Linked DNA regions of Homo sapiens: region 2 is linked to region 1. Evidence: promoter capture Hi-C in human tissues and cell types (Jung and others, 2019). All regions are on one chromosome and are shown on one strand. Each heading gives the region's core, a stretch centred on a gene start or on the middle of the fragment in contact. The rest is flanking DNA. Distances are from core to core; before and after follow the strand shown.

What was found. The method cuts DNA at HindIII sites, captures the fragments that hold promoters and counts their contacts. A contact is called where the count stands out against the background at its distance.
Region 2: a contact is called between a fragment that was not itself captured here and the fragment with the promoter of RPL10L in region 1, in 1 of the 25 tissues and cell types used here (lymphoblastoid cells).

Annotation. Positions count from the first base shown.
Region 1 is chr14:46,649,312-46,655,115 of GRCh38, reverse strand. RPL10L (ribosomal protein L10 like) reads left to right here and starts at 3,335. Exons shown (of 1, transcript NM_080746.3): 1 at 3,335-4,106. The coding sequence starts at 3,380. The coding sequence ends at 4,024. All of the region lies in intron 3 of LOC105370481 (a long non-coding RNA gene), which reads left to right. The HindIII fragment of the contact is 6,030 bases long and covers 1,442-5,804 here.
Region 2 is chr14:47,757,801-47,764,141 of GRCh38, reverse strand. MIR548Y (microRNA 548y) reads left to right here and starts at 3,038; the gene lies at 3,038-3,147. The HindIII fragment of the contact is 5,503 bases long and covers 1-4,013 here.

The sequences.
Region 1 (5,804 bases), core at 2,086-4,585:
GGGAGAAACCACAGAGGGAAACTGTTTCACAGTCAAAGCTGAATCAAGTTTAAGTATTCGTACCTGTCTGCTTTCTAAGGGCTCCTAAAAAAGATCTCTCCCTGATCATTCCAAAATGTATTATTATAGGATATGCATTATTAGCATTAACAAAAGACAAGTTTGTCTTTTCTGTCTTGTGTATGCACACCAAATGGCAGCATGCTGGAGCTGGCTAACACTAGCTTACAGAAGCTGATAGTGCACATCTCTCCCCATCTTTGTGCTCAGTAAATCACACTGATGTTTGAAACTGATGACGGGAAAAGTATTTCTACCAAATCAATCAGCAAACACTACAAATCAGGGATTTCTCCTCAAAATCCTGACCTCCACTAAGAGCAGGTTGTTAAATGTTTATTAACACCGCACCGCGCCTCCGAAGTGTGTGTATTCCTTGTGCTACTCGTCACACAATGTGCCAAAAACAGGGGACAAAACAGTGAACCAGGTAGAGATATTTCTGTTCTCATATCTCTTAATGGTTTTATGAAGTTGTGTTGCTTCATTTCTACCATATCCCATATTTCTACTTGTGAATGTTCTACCCATTCTTTAAGCCATCTCTATTATACATGATATTAGTGTCTCCCTTAGCTATATATCTCAAAGCAGACAAGTTTTATATATTTTTGCAAGGTTTGCTTAGCATGATGTACACTGTGGATGGCAAGAGTAGAGAGGTAGGGAAACTCTCAAAATGTTGGAATTGATTAAGAGGAATGCTTGTAATATTTCAACAGAATGGTGGTGCTTCATGCATTTTTCCACAGGATCTCCTCTTATATCTGCAAGGTTAGGAAAAGAAGTATAAACAGAGGATCCCAGTGTGGACCTCCCTTTCCTCTTTCCTCCCTCCTAATCTGCAACTGTGAAGGGCCTCATGCATGAGTGGAGTAGGGTGGCCAACCCTCCCACTTCGCGTGGTATTAAGGGGTTTTGCAGGACCTAGGACTTGAATGTTAAAACTGGTACAGACCCGGACAAACCAGGATTGCTCAAGCTTTGGATTAAAGAAAGAAACTTATGTAGACAGGCCCCCACAGCAAAACAGCATCTGCTGGTCAGATAATTCTAGCATTTTGGCAACATTAGACAGGTGGGAGATCAGACAAGTGGAAGTGAGTGTGTCGTGGCACATAAACTCTGGGCGTCTTCCTTTTGCCTCACAAACACCTCTCCCTGAGGCGCGATCATAGATTCAGAGCATGTAGTAGTATAAAAAAGATACTAACTTGTATATAAAGTCAAATATTTTAAAGTATGTTCAAGTTATAGTGTGTTTTCTGCAGTATTGCGAAGTCTTCCTTTCTGATCTCCTTGCATACCTTTTTTGGGCTGGTTTCAGTCTATTCACCATACCATAACCAGAGTGATGAAACCTAAGTAAAGCTCTTTAATGGCCTCACATTAAAGATCAGGATCCCTAACTTGGTAAAATGGGCCCTGTATGAAAGCATGACCCCTTCTCTCTCACACATACACACACTCTGGGCTCATGTTATGTGACTCATTTTCTCACTCACAGTCACATTGGCCTGACTTTAAGTTCCTTAAAATGTTCCATATTTCTGCCTGCTTCAGGCCTTTTATACATCAGACCCCATGTGCCATGGTCACTACATGAAATTTCTTTTCTGATAAAGATTTTCCTGTCTATTCCTCAGTCTGGATCAAGGTCTCATCCCCAGCCTCATCCCACAGTCTCAGGGCTTACTTTGCTTTTCCTTTTTGGCACATTTTACACTTGGTAATATGATGATATATGAGAAGTATCTATATCCTCTCCTAGGCTTGTAAGCTTGGTGAGAGCAACATGGTATTAGCTACTTTATCTCAATATGTTAAACAGGAACTAGTTGAGAAAAAGGGGAAAGAAGAAATGAAGGAAGAAAAGGGAAGTGAGAAAGCTTTCTTAAAGGTCAGAAAGTTTTCTACATTGGGAGATTTAATTGTTTTATCTTTAGTATTTTGTAAAAATCCACTCACTTTAAGGGCAGGAGTTATTTTTCTCCCTTAAAACAAAGAGTATTGACAGAATATATTCACATTGGGGGGATTTTGTTCCATGATGTAATGGATTTGTGAAACAACATTAAAACAAAAAAGAAAACTAGAAAAATGCAAGTAGGGTTTGTAAACTATTAATTTCTTTTCCTCTCTCTTCTTCCTCCTTTCCTACACTCTGATCCCTGTCATAATATTTTTACAAACTCTGAGAAGAAAAAAAGTTTAAATTTATTCTCAGGGGCAAAAGATTACTAAAACACAAACTGTTACTCTTTTATATAGTTTCAGCAGCTTTAACATTTGAAAATGCAAATAGCCTTAAGTTAAAAAAAATCTAGTTGGTGTTTCAATTTTGTATATATCATTTTGATAATAAAATCATTTCTTTAGGCCAAATAAAGAAAAAACAAAGTTTCATGTTTATAAAACAATTGCCAAGCTACAGATACAACAGATATCTTCTCTTTATCCCTCTCTCTTCTCTTCCTCTCATCTCTTCCTGAGTCTCATCAAAGCACTCATGCCAAGAAACCACTTTATCCAGGGAAGGTGGCCACATAACCCAAGAAACAGCAATTGATCTACAAATGCTGACAGTGAGATACAAGCTCTGGAAAATGAACTGACCAAACTGGAAACAGCATGTTGAATAACTGGAAGGATTTTTCCTCTCAAATTCTAGGATTTCTTTTTTTCTTTTTCTTTAGACAGGGTCTCCCTCTGTCACTCAAGCTGGAGTGCAGTGGTGCTATCTCAGCTCACTGCAGTTTCTGCCTGCAGGGCCCAGGCGATCCTCCCACCTCAGCCTCCTGAGTAGCTGGGACTACAAGCATGTGCCACCATGCCCAGCTATTTGATATATATATATTTTTTTTTTTGTAGAGACAGCATTTCACTATATTGCCCAGGCTGGCCTCGAACTCCTGAGCTCAAGAGATTCTCCTGCCTGGAAATAACCTCTTTTATACTTAAAGCAAAGCTGAAAGCAAGAGTTCCTAGCCCAAGATGGCTAGCAGAAAGGAAGCAGCAGCTGTGCAGTTGGGGCGGGGCCCAATTCCTTCCCTGGCCGCCAGGGGGAGTCTACCCACAGCTGACTCTGCTCACCTTAAGCGCGCCACTTGGCGCAGGCGCTGAGGCGCCAGACGTCCCTGCGTCTCTGGTTGGGACGTCCTGAAAGAGAGTCGTCACATCCTCCTCAGGACTCTATGGTTCCGGCCTCAGGACTCTATGGTTCCCGCGAGGGACGAGGGGCAACGTATATAAATGCGCGCAGGCGTAGTTAAGAGAGCGCATTTTGACTTCGAGGCACCGCCGACGTTACTGTGTCGCCATGGGGCGCCGTCCAGCTCGCTGTTACCGGTATTGTAAGAACAAGCCGTACCCAAAATCTCGTTTCTGCCGAGGGGTTCCTGATGCCAAGATCCGCATCTTTGACCTGGGTAGAAAGAAGGCAAAAGTGGATGAGTTCCCACTCGGTGGCCACATGGTGTCTGATGAATATGAGCAGCTGTCTTCTGAAGCCCTGGAGGCCGCCCGTATTTGTGCCAACAAATACATGGTGAAAAGTTGTGGCAGAGATGGCTTTCACATGCGAGTGCGGCTCCATCCCTTCCATGTCATCCGCATCAACAAGATGTTGTCCTGTGCTGGGGCTGACAGGCTCCAGACAGGTATGCGAGGTGCCTTTGGAAAACCCCAGGGTACTGTAGCCCGGGTCCACATTGGTCAAGTCATCATGTCCATCCGCACCAAGCTTCAGAACGAGGAGCATGTGATTGAAGCCTTGCGCAGGGCCAAGTTCAAGTTCCCTGGACGCCAGAAGATTCATATCTCCAAGAAGTGGGGCTTCACGAAGTTTAATGCTGACGAATTTGAAGACATGGTGGCCAAGAAGTGCCTCATCCCTGATGGTTGTGGAGTCAAGTACGTTCCCAGTCATGGCCCCTTGGACAAGTGGCGGGTTCTGCACTCATGAAGGTTTTGGCAGTACTGTCTCCTTGGGCCATGCTGGTCTGACTTATGCTTACTAATAAATTCTGTTTACTGGCAAAAAATAACTCCTTATTAAGTTTTAATATTTTTTAAATATCCAATGTTTTAGAATATAGACTACTAGAGAATTTTTTTCTATTTATTCAGTTTTAATGGCAAATGTTACCTTCCTTGCTTCAGTAAAACTATACAATTTATAGAGAAAGCTGTTTTAAGCAAACACTTTAAATTTAGGAGAGTATAGAGCAATATGTTGAAAGTTTTGTTTGTAGTAAAGTCATAAGTTATGCAGCTATCATTCCTTGAATAAAAAATAGATTTGAGTGAAAAAATTTGTTTATAGAATATAAACTAAACAGTAGCGATGAAAATAATAGTAGGCATTAGTGATATTTCACCCACAGCCTCTTTGGAAGTAATTTATTTCTAAACTTGGTTGCCTTATGTTTTTCTATAAATTTCTGTACATTGTTTTTAGAATTACCTTACACGTCTGATTATCAGCCTTAGGACAATTGAGTATCACTCTGAAAGGCTTTTCCAGACGAACTTTACATTGTCTCACAGTCAAGAGATAACAGTCTAATCTTTTTTTCATCATAGAAAGGTCATAGGTGACAACAGAGTTCATATTACTTGTATCTGGGCTCCAGTAGAACCAAAAGAAGAGAGAAAATGACACTAAATCGGTTATCTGTGCTATAAAAGGACCCTAAAGAGAGTTTGCAATTGTAGGTGCTTGCCCTGAATTAGAGTTACGTTGATGACACAGGTGCTTTTTGTTTTATTTTTGAAACTACATAAGCTAAAATTCCTGAGTTTGTACTGCATTAAAAAAAATTCTTGTTCTTTACAATTGACTTAGCCTTTTGAATCTCAATCCTGCTAACAGTGCCTTCAGTGTTTTTAGACTAACGGTTCTTTTTCAAAGTCAACACATTTAATGAAAACAACAAAAGAAATAGTAAGAAACACTACTATTTAATTTTCATTTATTTAAAGAAATGCTATGTCAGTCTTAACATATTGTATCTGGCTGGATATTTATTTTAGGCCCTTGCTATAAGATATTTCCTATTTGTATATATTTAAGCTATGTTGCTATTTTAAGACGTTTTTCATGTTTGCGTTTTACCACACTTTCAAAAACGAAAATTCAACCTCTAAATAATAATAATAATCAAAAGAGAAAGGCAATACAAAACACAATAAAATCAGCAACCCCTTAGCTTCTAGTACAACCATGGCCCAGCTTTGAAAATATTTTCCATCTTCATTATTTCCCTTTCTCTTTGGTCTTAAACCTCTCAAAACATCTTGACCTTCAAACTTGGAACTCTGCACTCAACTAAATATATAGGGAGAGAGGTTAAGTATAAGCTCATGAACTTCCTTGCCCTAAGAGATTGGTAACAGTAATTGTTTATGCATATAGATATGGGAGTGAAGAGGAAATGAATGATTAAGAATTAATGCATTAAAAACTGGTAGGTAGCTGTCAATAAATTTTTTATTTGAATTTTCCCACAGTTTCACGTTATAAAGATTATATATAAATTCTTTTTTTAAACGTTGACATACAAGCACTTTTACTTGTTTTTGTTAAAAATCCTTCCTACTAATTTTCCCCAAGTCATTATTTTGTTTTTTCAGCATTTTCTTATTTTAGGGTCATTCTAATTATTTAAAAAAAAAATAGTAAGACAATTGGGCTGAAGGATCATTTAATTATAATTTTGCAGAGTTCGTTATTTTAAAATTTC
Region 2 (6,341 bases), core at 13-2,512, 1.1 Mb before region 1:
ATTGTTGACATTCCCTTTATTTCCACTTGTTATAATCTGTTTGCTTTTAACAATTTCTAAATATTTTTAAATGAGGAGAAACAATGCATTTACCCACATAAATATAAACCATATACTTTCATTGTTTTCTGGATTGTAATATTTCAGATGAGAAATGTGCCAATATTCTTATTTTGGTTCCTGAGTAAGTAATGTGTAATTTTTCTTTAGCTATTTTTAAGGTGTTCTCTTTTATCACTGATTTTTTCAACAATTTGGTTATAATGTGCCTCACTGTGATTATCTTTTTCTTTATATGAGGGCAAAGGTGTGTTAAGTTTTGAAAACTTAGTTGTCTATAGTTTAATTCAAAATGGGACAAATTTGTGGTAATTATTTTTGCAAATATTTTTACATCTTCGTTTTTATATCATCAATCACGTAATGTCTGTGCCACTTGAAATTGCTTCACACATCACTGAGACTGTTCAGTGGCTTTTTATTATTTTTCTTTGTGTTTCAGTTTGGATAGTTTCATATCATATGTGTGAGTTCATTGACATTTTCTTCTTCAGTGTCTGGCTACTATTAAAAATCAGGACTTTTTTATTTTATGTATTTTACTTCTTAATTCTAAATTTTGCATTTGCTTCATTTTTATACCTTCCATATCTATTTTTATTCATGTTTCTTTTAAAATTTTTGAACACATTTAAAACAGCTTTTGTGAAGCCCTACTCATATAAATCCACCAATTCTTTCAGTTTCTGTTTCTCTTCACTGATTCTTCTCATGGTCATGGCTCACATTTTCCTGCTTCTTCTCATATACAGTAATTTTAAATTTGGCCCCAAACTATGAGAGCTATATTGTTGAGTGTTTGGATTTTGTTGCCATCCTTTTACAAATGTCAATTTCATTTGGCTAAGTAAGTATGTAATTGTGGATCAGTGTGATTCTTTAGAGGTTTGCTTTTAAGCTTTTTAGGCTGGACTTAGAGAATTCTTTACCTCGGGACTACTTTAGCACTTATACTAAGGCCTGAACCTTCTCATGTTTCCACTGAATGTTGTAGATGTTCAATCTATTCTGGTTGGTTCAGAAGTAAACATTTCCCCGCCCTACCTGAGCTCTGGGAGTCCTTCAGCTTAAAGCTCCCAGCCCTTTGACTTTTCCCATGCATGTACAACTTAGTACCTAGAACATTCTCAAGGAGACCCCTGTGCATATTCCTGGAGCTCCTCCTTCACCTACTTTCCTTCTCACTGGTAATGTGTCCTACACATTCAATATTCCAGGTAAGTCAGTCTTCCCTAACTCTGATCTCTGTTTACTCAACTCAGTGAGATCATGCTAGTGACCCCCTCTGCACCACAGGTTGGAAAGTAGTTCCAGGCAGTTAATAGAGCTCACTTTGTTTCCACTTCCCTTGGACCATAATCCTAAATTGCCTAATCTCCTATATCTGAAAGAATTTGACTCATACATTTTCCAAGTTTTCCAGATATTTATAATGTTAGGAAAGCTCCTGTCTCTGTTAATCAGCATGGCCAGAAGTAAAATTCTGTGTCTGTTCATTCTTGACATTTTCGTGTTTACTGATTTTGTAATTTCACCTATTATTTATTTAAACATTTCATATATAGCATTTTACATTCAATTTCTGATAATTTCTATATCTGAAGCCATTGGGAGTCTTAATTAGATGTTTGCTATTTGTTGTTTCTGCTGTCTCACTCACCATGGCTTGATTTCTTTAATCTTAATCTTTAGGTATCCTAGGGTCAACTTTTTCTCCAGGGTAGAATTTGAAATTATCTCTGCTAGGAGTTTGATGTAGTAAGACCTGGGACCAGGCTTGCTGACATAATGCCAGGTTTCCAGGATCAGCTCCCTCAAGCTTAGTCTCTGGAACACAATGCTAATTTCAACACTTGTCTCAGGCTAGCTCCAACTTTCCCATTTGTGTCTTGCAGGTAGCGCACTGTTCTTTGATTCTATCTCAGGATTCAGGTCATTTTTTGCATGTTTATTAGGTTGTTTATTTAAGGGGTGCTTGGAGATTTACTTATTTCCCTGCAACCACAGCAGTGCATTGAAATGTAGATTTTATAAAGAAGCTAGTAGTTTTCCTCATAAGTTATTTATGTTGATTCTGAAGATCTTTATGTCTTGGGTGTTTGGTTTTGGTTTTAGCACTGTGTGTGTGTGTGTGTGTGTGTGTGTGTGTATGTGTGTGTGTGTGTCTGTGCGTGTGTGTGTAATTTCATCTTATTTTGCAGCAGATCCAGTGTGCTTCTCAAATATTAGGTTCATGCTATTGATTTTGAAAAAATCATCATTACCATCTCATTCCCTCTTATTCTTTCATTGAATCTATCCCATTTTAATCTATTATCTTATTTATCTCTTAAACTTGCTTTTAGTAACTGTAAAATCCTCAGCTCTTTCTCTCTGTTAATTGCCTGTTGAGAATTATCTGCTTTTTAATCATCGTGTCGGAGTCTATTATTTGCTTTCTCAATATCCATATATTTCGTGTAGTAATGCTATTTTTAGCTGAATATGTGTCCATTTACCTAAATATAACATTTTTCAGCACTTTTTGCAGCTACTTTGGGTCAGTTAAATGGTATATACGTGAAATTGATGTACAACATTTGGATCACAGTTTTAAAAGGAAAAGAGTAGGTCTTCCCATTCTTCTTTCCCACTACAATGGAATGTATGTTTGTGGCCCCCTAAATTCATATGTTGAAACCGTAATCCCTCATCTCAATGTGATAGTGTTTGGAGGTGGTACCTTTCAGAGTCGATGAAGTAATACTGTTAGTGCTCTCATGGATGGGATTAGTGCTCTTATGAGAAGAGGCCATAGAGTAGCTAGCTCTCTTCCCTTCATATGAAAATAAGATCTTGGTAGTCTATAAACCAAGAAGTGAGCCTCAACAGACACATAATCTGCCAGCACCTTTATCTTGAACTTCCTAGCCTCCAGCACTATGAGAAACAACTGTTTGTTGTTTAAGCCACCAGCCTATAGTAGTTTGTGACAGCAGCCTAAACTATTAGGTTGGTGCAAAAGTAATCACTGTTTTTGCCATTACTCTCAGTGGCAAAAACCGTGATTACTTTTGCACCAACCTAGTAACACCTTCACTGTGGGGGTGCAGACATGGCAGATGTGGAGCATCCAAGCTGGACTCTGATTAAAAAGCTAATTGAGGAAGTTACAATAAAGGATCTGGTTTGTTGACAATGTGGAAATGTCTTATCTATCATCGAAGTCCTGAAATGCTTACAATTTATGAAAGAGAAATAGGCCGGGCGTGGTGGCTCACGCCTGTAATCCCAGCACTTTGGGAGGCAGAGGCAGGCGGATCATGAGGTCAGGAGGTCGAGACCATCCTGGCTAACACGGTGAAACCCCGTCTCTAACAAAAGTACAAAAAATTAGCTGGGCGTGGTGTCGGGCACCTGTAGTCCCAGCTACTCCGGAGGCTGAGGCAGGAGAATGGCGTGAACCCGGAAGGCGGAGCTTGCAGTGAGCCAAGATGCATCACTGCACTCCAGCCTGGGCGACGAGCGAGACTCTGTCTCAAAAAAAAAAAAAAAAAAGAAAGAGAAATAAACATCTATCTTATCTGAACTACTGTTTATGTGGAATTTTGTCAAAGCCACCCATATCCTGTTCAGGATTTATATATATTATATATATATAAATCTATATATTAGAAGGTTTTTCTTATTTAATATATTTTTCATTTTATAACTTCTATTTGGCCTCTTTTCAAATATATCTGCTTTTTATGTCACCTTATCTCTTATAGTAATTGATTTCCTCTTTCCTGCTTCATTCAATTTAAAGCTACTTATTTTATAGTCTCTATGTCAGAGTCTGATCTGAGAAGCAGTACCACCAGATTTGTGTATAATAAGGGATTTGTAATAGGGATTTGCCTTATATATTTGTGGAAACTGTTGAAAAGTCTTTGTGAAACTATTGTTTCTGTGTCTAGTGCTGAGCCTAAAGTCATCAGCGCACACAGTCTGAAAGATAAAATGGACGTAAAATGAGGGAAGCGAGACAAACTGGTACCTGCAAGAATAAACCCGAATCTATCAGGACAGAGTTGCAACCCTGCTTCCATGTGTCCAACTTTAAAGTTGGGGTAATCTGCAGGAGGAGCTGCTATGAGCTAAACCATACCTCACTGAAAGTCAGAGTGATTGAAAGTGGGTGTCTGGCAGCTGTGGCATTTCTGAGGGCCCAGCTACTGCCCTACTCCAACAATGTGATCCCACAGATAAATGACACCTGTGTGAGCTACAACAGTGCCATGTGCCCAGTGCTGACTTTCTGAAAATAAAAAGAATATAGATGCTGTTTCATTTCATCCTTCCAACTCTCATACAAAATATCTCTCATGGCCCTCACTAACAAAGATGATATGGTTTGGCTGTGTCCCCACCCAAATCTTATCTTGAATTCCCGAGTGTTACGTGAGGGACCTGGTGGAAAGTAACTGGATCACGGGGGCAGGTCTTTCCCATGGTGTTGGGTGGGTCTCATGAGATCTGATGGTATTACAAGGGGGAGTTTCCCTGCACAAGTGCTCTCTTTCTTTGCCTGCAGCCATCCATGTAAGACATGACTTGCTCCTTCTGCCGTGATTGTGAGGCTTCCCCAGCCACATGGAACTGTAGGTCCATGTTAAACTTCTTTCTTTTGTAAATTGCCTAGTCTCAGGTATGTCTTTATCGTCAGTGTGAAAATGGACTAATACCAAAGAACTATGCTTGGAGGGGAATTCTGGGGAATGCAATTCCAGTTTAGTTCATTTGGCATGATACAAATCCACCATAGTCTCTGTAGTAACCAACATTCAATATTTTCCTAGTAAACATTGGCTCCTGGTATTCACACTCCTATCTAATTCCATCCCACAATTAATAGGACTTACATATATGACAGATAGAATATTGTTGAAGTGAAAGTGTGTGATGTAAGAATTAGGTCATTAAAAAGTTTACAGCCTCCTCTCTGGTCTTCCATTTTTCTCATTTTGGGAGGAGTTAGCTACCGTGTTCTGAGGACACTCAAGTAGCCATGTAGAGAAGATCATATGGAGAAAAAACTCAGGCTGACTGCCAACAGTAAGCACCGATTCTCCAGCCATGTGAAATAACATTAGAAGCAGCTTCTTCATCCCCAATCAATTCTTTAGATAATTCAAACCAGTCAGCCCTCAAGTCTTCCAGCTGATACGTCAAATAATGTGGAAGTGGAAAGAAATCACCCATCTGCACTGAGTGTGTGACCCTTAAAAACTGAGAGATAATATGATTAGTGTTGTTTAAGCCACTAAGCAACAGTTAAATAACACAATCTTTAGTGCTAGATACTGCTTTGAATGGATTATTTCTTCTCCTGGTTTGCCATTTTGTATTTTGAACTCATTTTGGAAGAGTTTTATTTGGAATGACACTAGATGGTTTGGTTTTAGAGTGTTTACCATCAGAGTGTCTTGCATTTGTTTCTGTCAGATGCATGAGGGGATCCACTGATCTAAGTATAATTTGACACCAATATTTTAGCTTGAGGATGCCCACATCTTATAGACAATTGAAAAAAAAATGAAGCCCAGATTCACATGACATGAAATGCATTGTCTTAATTTGTATTTTCCTGAAAGCATTGCTTGATACAATGACTTATGTATAGGTGGCATATTTGGGAGGGGGGTCTCAGTAATTCAGAATGAGGCAGGGAAGAACATGATACCAATAAAGAGTATGCTACTGAGCTGTCATCATCGCTGGAGGGAGATGGGGCTCAATCCTTCTGGGGTGTTCTCAGAAACAATATCAAGTATCCCTCAGAATCTTCCTTTGGAAAGGAGTTGAGAAATGTTTTTCCTAACTCCCATCCTCCATTGATTGAGGATTGTCCAAGATGTGTTATGGGCTTTAGAGAAAAGCTGGGGGGTGGGACAGTTACATGAGTTGAGGACTCCACTAAAGGCATAGAAAGTCTCTACTACAGCTGTAGCAGGAATTGAAGATGGACACAGAGCATGTGATATAGAACCTCAATATCATCTGATTACAAATTCTAAGGAGGATGTTTTTTACTCTTTACCCAGAGACCGAGTCACAATAAACAAGCTTACATGTATATATATATATATATATACACATCACAATATTATTGTGCCACTGCACTTCAGCCTGGGTGACAAGGTCGCTCTGTCACCCAGGCTGGAGTGCAGTGGCATAATAGTGCCTCCACACCCTCACATCTCCCTCACACACCCTCAACTTCCAAGGCCGAAGCCATTCTCCCACCTTAGCCTTTTGGG